Linked DNA regions of Homo sapiens: region 2 is linked to region 1. Evidence: promoter capture Hi-C in 16 types of primary human blood cells and fetal thymus (Javierre and others, 2016). All regions are on one chromosome and are shown on one strand. The core of a region is centred on a gene start or on the middle of the fragment in contact, and the rest is flanking DNA. Distances in the headings are between cores, read along the strand shown. Region 1 holds the start of DLX2 (distal-less homeobox 2). Region 2 holds the start of LINC01124 (long intergenic non-protein coding RNA 1124).

Region 1 (2,931 bases), core at 319-2,818:
CATAAAGCAATGCAGGTGGGTGGAGGTGAGCTCCACCTCCAACGTTTCTCATAAGCTGGCGCTTTCCATCTAGGGGCCTTCCTTAACCAAAAAAAAGCTGGGAACTAAATCCAGGTAGACTTAAAGGCGCATTACCTATCTCATTATTTCTCTGTGTGAATGCTGGAGTTTTAATTACACACTTGCTTTTTATGGGGAAGAAGACCAAAGATCATATTTTTGAAGGTATCAACTTGTTTTCTATCAGACAGTTGTTTTAACAAGTTCTTTCAGCGACATGTTATGTCTTTAGGAAAGGGTGCTTCAGATGGTGCGCACTAGCACAATTTTGTGGCTTTTAATTACTATTTTGTTCTTTTGGGGGGTTTCAGAGGCTGGCGCCTGGGCGTGATTAGACCGTCTACCCCGCCCCCCGCAACCTCGCACACTGCCCACCAGGTGGCGCCACAAAGCAAGCGCTGCCGCAGGAACTTCGGACTTGGGAGTCCAGCAAGTCGTGCAGTCCATCACCGTCGGGCCAAGGTTTCCAACTACAAGGTTATAGAGACAGAGGAAGTCACCATTTCCGATTTTTTAAAAAACAGAGGGAAAAGAAAAAAATTGCAATGATAGGGTAGAACAGGGTCCTAAAATGCAAAACTGTAAAACAGGATTAAATTCAACAAACCAGATAAAACTTTTTATATTTGTTGTAAATTTACAGAGAAGTGATAAATCTAGTATCTACTTGATAAATCTATAATCTCACCTATTATCCTATTTCCTTTTTCGCAAGAGCATCGAATTTTCAAGGACAACTGGTGAACCTTTCCACCCGAAGGAGGAAGTCCTCGGGATGGCTTTCAGGGTGTCATTTACTTATCAAACGTATATAATTACTCAGAGTCTCGCGTGTCGGGAAAGTACCAGGGAAAGTGGTTTCAAATATACTATTAGCAATAATACCTTTAAGTTTATGTAGCTTCTCTTTGAAGCAACAAGGAAAACCCGTTTCAATATTATATGATTAATTGTCCTAATATCCCTGCGGATTGGTTAAGAAGCGAGCATTACACGTGGTTTGTGGATAATTAAATCAATTGATTATGTCAAGTGCCGAGTGGCTAACAAGAATAAATGCCAGACACTTCGAGGAAAAGTGAAGATAGAGCTGGCTGGACTCTGGGCACCGATGTACTTTAATGTGTTTGAAAACTGACCTCGGACATGAAAGTACGAATCACTGGAACTGGCACTTGCTCACAGAATGGGAGAGGGGACCCCACTTCTTCCTCTGAGGCAAAACGCCAGTCTGTCTCCACGCCTTCTGTCTTCCTGCTGCGGGCCACCCTGACTCCTCGCTACCTCGACCCCTCGCCTCGCTGCTCACATTCGGCGGCAGTCTGTTTGCACCTGGGGCCGCTGCAGCCGCAGCCGCAGCCACAGCGCCCACCATGTGACGCCCGCCCCTTGGCCGGGCGTTCCCGGAGCTCCGCGGCCGTTTGCTTCTGATTGGCTGTTGCTAGGTGACGTCGCCAGCGCTCACGTGACGAGTGTTAAATGCCCACACTTCAGGAGCCCGCCTGGCAGACAATCGTAAAGCCGCTCGGGGCCGCTCACCTGCTCCCGCCTCCCAGAGCCCCGACCCGGCCCAGCCACCCCTGCCCCCTCCACTGCCCGCCCCCCGCCAGAGCCCGCGCTCGCGCTGGGCAAGGAGCCGAGCGGGCCCAGAGGCCGAAAGAGGATGCGACCAGAGGCAGCTGTCCCGAGCAGCGCACGGTGATCGCCTCCCCCGGAGGAGGAGGCGCCTAGACGGTTGCCTCCTTTCTTGTTTCCCCACCACCACCCCCGTAATTACATTGGCTGCTGGAGGGGACCGGGAGAGACAGAGGAGGCGCCTGGCTTCCCCCGCACGCCCGCCACCTCTGCTCTTTCCCGTCTCGGGCCAGGATGACTGGAGTCTTTGACAGTCTAGTGGCTGATATGCACTCGACCCAGATCGCCGCCTCCAGCACGTACCACCAGCACCAGCAGCCCCCGAGCGGCGGCGGCGCCGGCCCGGGTGGCAACAGCAGCAGCAGCAGCAGCCTCCACAAGCCCCAGGAGTCGCCCACCCTTCCGGTGTCCACCGCCACCGACAGCAGCTACTACACCAACCAGCAGCACCCGGCGGGCGGCGGCGGCGGCGGGGGCTCGCCCTACGCGCACATGGGTTCCTACCAGTACCAAGCCAGCGGCCTCAACAACGTCCCTTACTCCGCCAAGAGCAGCTATGACCTGGGCTACACCGCCGCCTACACCTCCTACGCTCCCTATGGAACCAGTTCGTCCCCAGCCAACAACGAGCCTGGTATGCATAACGCTGAAGTCAAGAGTGCCGAGTCGGTCTAGTTAATGGGATGGATGGGTAAACGTGTTTGGGGCGGGGGGCCTTCGAAAGCTCTGGATTTTCACGCTGCCTGCTCACCGCCCGCTTGTGCCCTTTACCCTCCCCAGCCTCCAATCTGCCGCAGGTCGCCGGTTACGTCCCTCTCTCCTTTGGTAGGACCTGGTGGCCTCAAGAGCCAAGTGGGCGTGCTCTGCCTGCCTCATAAGGGCATCTCCTTGCCACCAGCTTCTTTCTCTTGGGTGTGCACTTGTCTCCCCCTTCCCTGGAGGGTACAGCTCCCGGGGTCGGTGGCGGCTCCGATCGCACGCTGCGAAGTTGCGCCTGCCCGTGGCGCCACAGTTCAGTGCACCCACCTCTTTGCTCAAGCCAAGTCCCCCCCGCCGGGCCCTCTAGGAGGGCGGGAACTCCAGGACCCCTGGGTTGCGCTGTTCTTACGATTCTTTATCGTTGCAGAGAAGGAGGACCTTGAGCCTGAAATTCGGATAGTGAACGGGAAGCCAAAGAAAGTCCGGAAACCCCGCACCATCTACTCCAGTTTCCAGCTGGCGGCTCTTCAGCGGCGT
Region 2 (2,782 bases), core at 178-2,677, 1.4 Mb after region 1:
AGGCGCGAAGTGGGAGGGGGAGGCATCCGACGGGCCCCTCCCGGCTCCGTGGTCAGTAAGAGTCGGGAAACACCCACAACCCCGCCGGCCGGCCGCTCTCCCTCCCATCTTTTAAGCTCTCTTGTCCTCACTGCCTTCGCGCTCCTCCCTGGCCCGCCCCAGGCTGAAATCAGCAGGAGGGCCCAGCAGGGTGAGCTCCGGTCCTGTTCTCGGCCAGCCGGGCACCTCCGAACAATCCCGGATCCACGCGTCCCTCCAGCAAAGGCCACACCGGATTAGGTGTGAAGTTGGCGTGGGCACCCCTAGGCCTGGCTCCAGCTGCACCCATCGGCGGGGTTCCCTTTGAGGTTCAAGGTGCACGGAGTACCAGGAGAGATCCGGACACGGCCCTTTCCACCTTTCTCCCGCCCCCTCCGGGCTCGGCCCTGACCTGGAGAAAGGCCTGCAGCGAGTCGTTCCGGAGGACGGCCACCGCGGCCATGGCTACGGCTTGCAGGCCCCTGGCTGCGGAGCGGGACGCCGCCGCCGAGGCATGGACACCCGAAGGCGAGGACGAAGGGCCGCCCAGCCTGCCTCCCTGGCGCCTGCTCTGAGCGCCGGGGCCCTCCCCGCCCTTGCCCCTCGCCGCGCCCCGCTCGCTCGCCCCGCGCGCGGTCTGAGCGCTTCAGGATCACCTCCAAGAATTTGATAAGGACTTTGCTGGGCCGCCAGCCAGTCAGAGGGAAGATTTATGGCTTTGAAGTTTGCCGCTACCCAATCATCAAAGAATAGCGGCTCTTTCAGAAGCGAAAGCAAATCCTTTGAATCCACAAAGCTCCTATGGTGTGTTTGTTGGTCTGGATAAAAGAACTGATTATTAGGGGGGATGGGAAGGGAGGAGATAAAGGCGGGACAATTAATGAAGTAATCACTATGTGGGAAATGTATATACACAAATAATTGGATTTTCCTGATCAAAGGGGGCCTTGCCGCCTGGAGACCCGCGCTTGGGTTGCTCGAGACACTCTTCCCGCCCCCCCCAACATACACACACACACACACACACACACTTGCAATTAAAGATTTGCACCGACGCAGCGCCCAAAGTGACAAAGTGTCTTTGTTATCTCTGGAAAAATCTGCCTTCGGCTTCCAGGCGCCGGACTTTGAGACGGCAAAGAGTGTAACTCTCCCCTGTATTTACTTGCACACCCTGCACCCTCGCCGCACACGCACCCGCCCGCGCACACAGCGGACCCAAGCGAGATCCCCGGTGGGGCGTGGGACCGACAGCGCCCGGCCCGCCGCGTGTCCCCCGCCCGCCGCGGTGGGGCCGAGGGCAGGGCTGTGACCTGGGGCGGGGCCGGGCGGCCGCCCAGCGCGGCGTTGGGTGGCGCGCACGCTCCAGGGCCGCCCGCCTGACGAGCGACCGGGGCTCTCCTGTGACGTTCCTGCTGGCGACCTGGAAGTTTTCCTCAGGCCACAACTTTTGCAGAGTGGACCTGGGAAAAACACCCGCGCCGCGCATACCCTCAAAGCTGAGCTCGGCAGGACACCCAAGGCGACCCGTCATGCCCACCCGAGGGGAAGAAGCTGTGCTGTCCCGCCCCCTTCTCCCCAGGCCACCCAGGAGGCCCGGGCTGGGCTGTGGGGGGCCGAAAGCCCCAGCGCTGCTGGTGATTTCTCGCCCGGAGCCCCGCCAAGCCAGCGCGCCCTCTCGCAAGCCTGGCAGACCAGGAGCTACTGGAAAAAAGGCGCGGTCGAGGAAGCCTGGTTGTTGTGGTCCCACAAACCACAAATCATACGAGAGAGGATCCCGAAGGCGGGAGAAAAGTCAGTACAGACTTGTTCCTGCCACCTTTGGAAAGAAAAAGTTCCTCACCAGGCGCGGGGCGTGCTTTGCTCTGGGCAGGGTCGCGCTTGCAGGGGCTTGGGTGACCCCCATCCCTCCCTGGCGGCTCACCTCCTGCCGAGGAGGGCCACCTGCCTCCTCCTGGCCCAGGGCGCAGGGCGCGTCCTGCCCCGGCACTGCGGACGCGGGGATCGCCTCTCCCGGGCGCGCGGGCGGGGAAGGAGGAAGAGGCGGGCGGGGAACCGCGGGGTGCTCACCGCCCTGGGGCATTAGGGGTGCGGAACCGCGTTGGAGGCCTCGCGGCCCCGGCTCGCGAGAGCGCACTGCGGAGTGGCCGCCGGAGCTCGGCCTACTCCTCTCCCCCACCCACCTCCCGTCGGACACAGTCTCCACTCTCCAGGCCGCCGGCCGTGGGGGAGCCCCTAATCAGTTCGCGCCCGGCCTCTCTGCCCGTCTTCCTCACGGGAACCGCACTGCGACCGGGACGGACGGGGTGACCTATCTCCCGATGCAGCGTCAGAGGTTAGCCTAACTACAACGGACTCGGAATCTGGACTGTATAAGGATGCCCTCCGCACTTCCATCAGGGGTCGGGGATGCGATGCCTCCGGGCCCACCTTCTCCCACGCCCAGGGCGCGCCTGCGGAATGAGAATATCGTACTCAAGACGGGTGGGCTGCTTGCGACCCAAATACAATGGGTCCCTCGCACATCCTGCACTCGCACGCCCCCTTCTCCCCCAACGAGTTGTCCCCTCTAAAACGCGAGCGGCGACCACACAACTTGGCCGACCCGATCTGGCTTCTGAAGATGAGGTCGGCTGCTCTGGGAGCGGAGAAGGGGAGAGAGCTTAGTGGTTTCATCCGAGGCCTGGCCAACCTGCTCCTTCCCACGCTCCCGTCCAGGATTTGAGTCTTGGAGAAGCGTGAGACTCGAGGGAGCTCTTCCCTG

What was found. The method cuts DNA at HindIII sites, captures the fragments that hold promoters and counts their contacts. A CHiCAGO score of 5 or more calls a contact.
Region 2: a contact is called between the fragment with the promoter of LINC01124 here and the fragment with the promoter of DLX2 in region 1, in 2 of 17 cell types (naive B cells and total B cells). The highest score is 13.5, in naive B cells.

What each region holds. Positions count from the first base shown.
Region 1 is chr2:172,101,537-172,104,467 of GRCh38, reverse strand. It overlaps DLX2 (distal-less homeobox 2), which reads left to right and starts at 1,568. Exons shown (of 3, transcript NM_004405.4): 1 at 1,568-2,329; 2 at 2,822-2,931. The coding sequence starts at 1,930. It overlaps DLX2-DT (DLX2 divergent transcript), which reads right to left and starts at 1,462. Exons shown (of 5, transcript NR_126376.1): 1 at 1,200-1,462; 2 at 436-530. RefSeq lists a silencer at 1,567-1,766. The HindIII fragment of the contact is 7,057 bases long and covers 1-2,931 here.
Region 2 is chr2:170,713,212-170,715,993 of GRCh38, reverse strand. LINC01124 (long intergenic non-protein coding RNA 1124) reads left to right here and starts at 1,427. Exons shown (of 1, transcript NR_027433.1): 1 at 1,427-2,782. It overlaps SP5 (Sp5 transcription factor), which reads right to left and starts at 657. Exons shown (of 2, transcript NM_001003845.3): 1 at 431-657. The coding sequence starts at 481. All of the region lies in intron 5 of ERICH2-DT (ERICH2 divergent transcript), which reads left to right. RefSeq lists enhancers at 1-283, 284-1,073 and a silencer at 1,291-1,340. The HindIII fragment of the contact is 7,273 bases long and covers 1-2,782 here.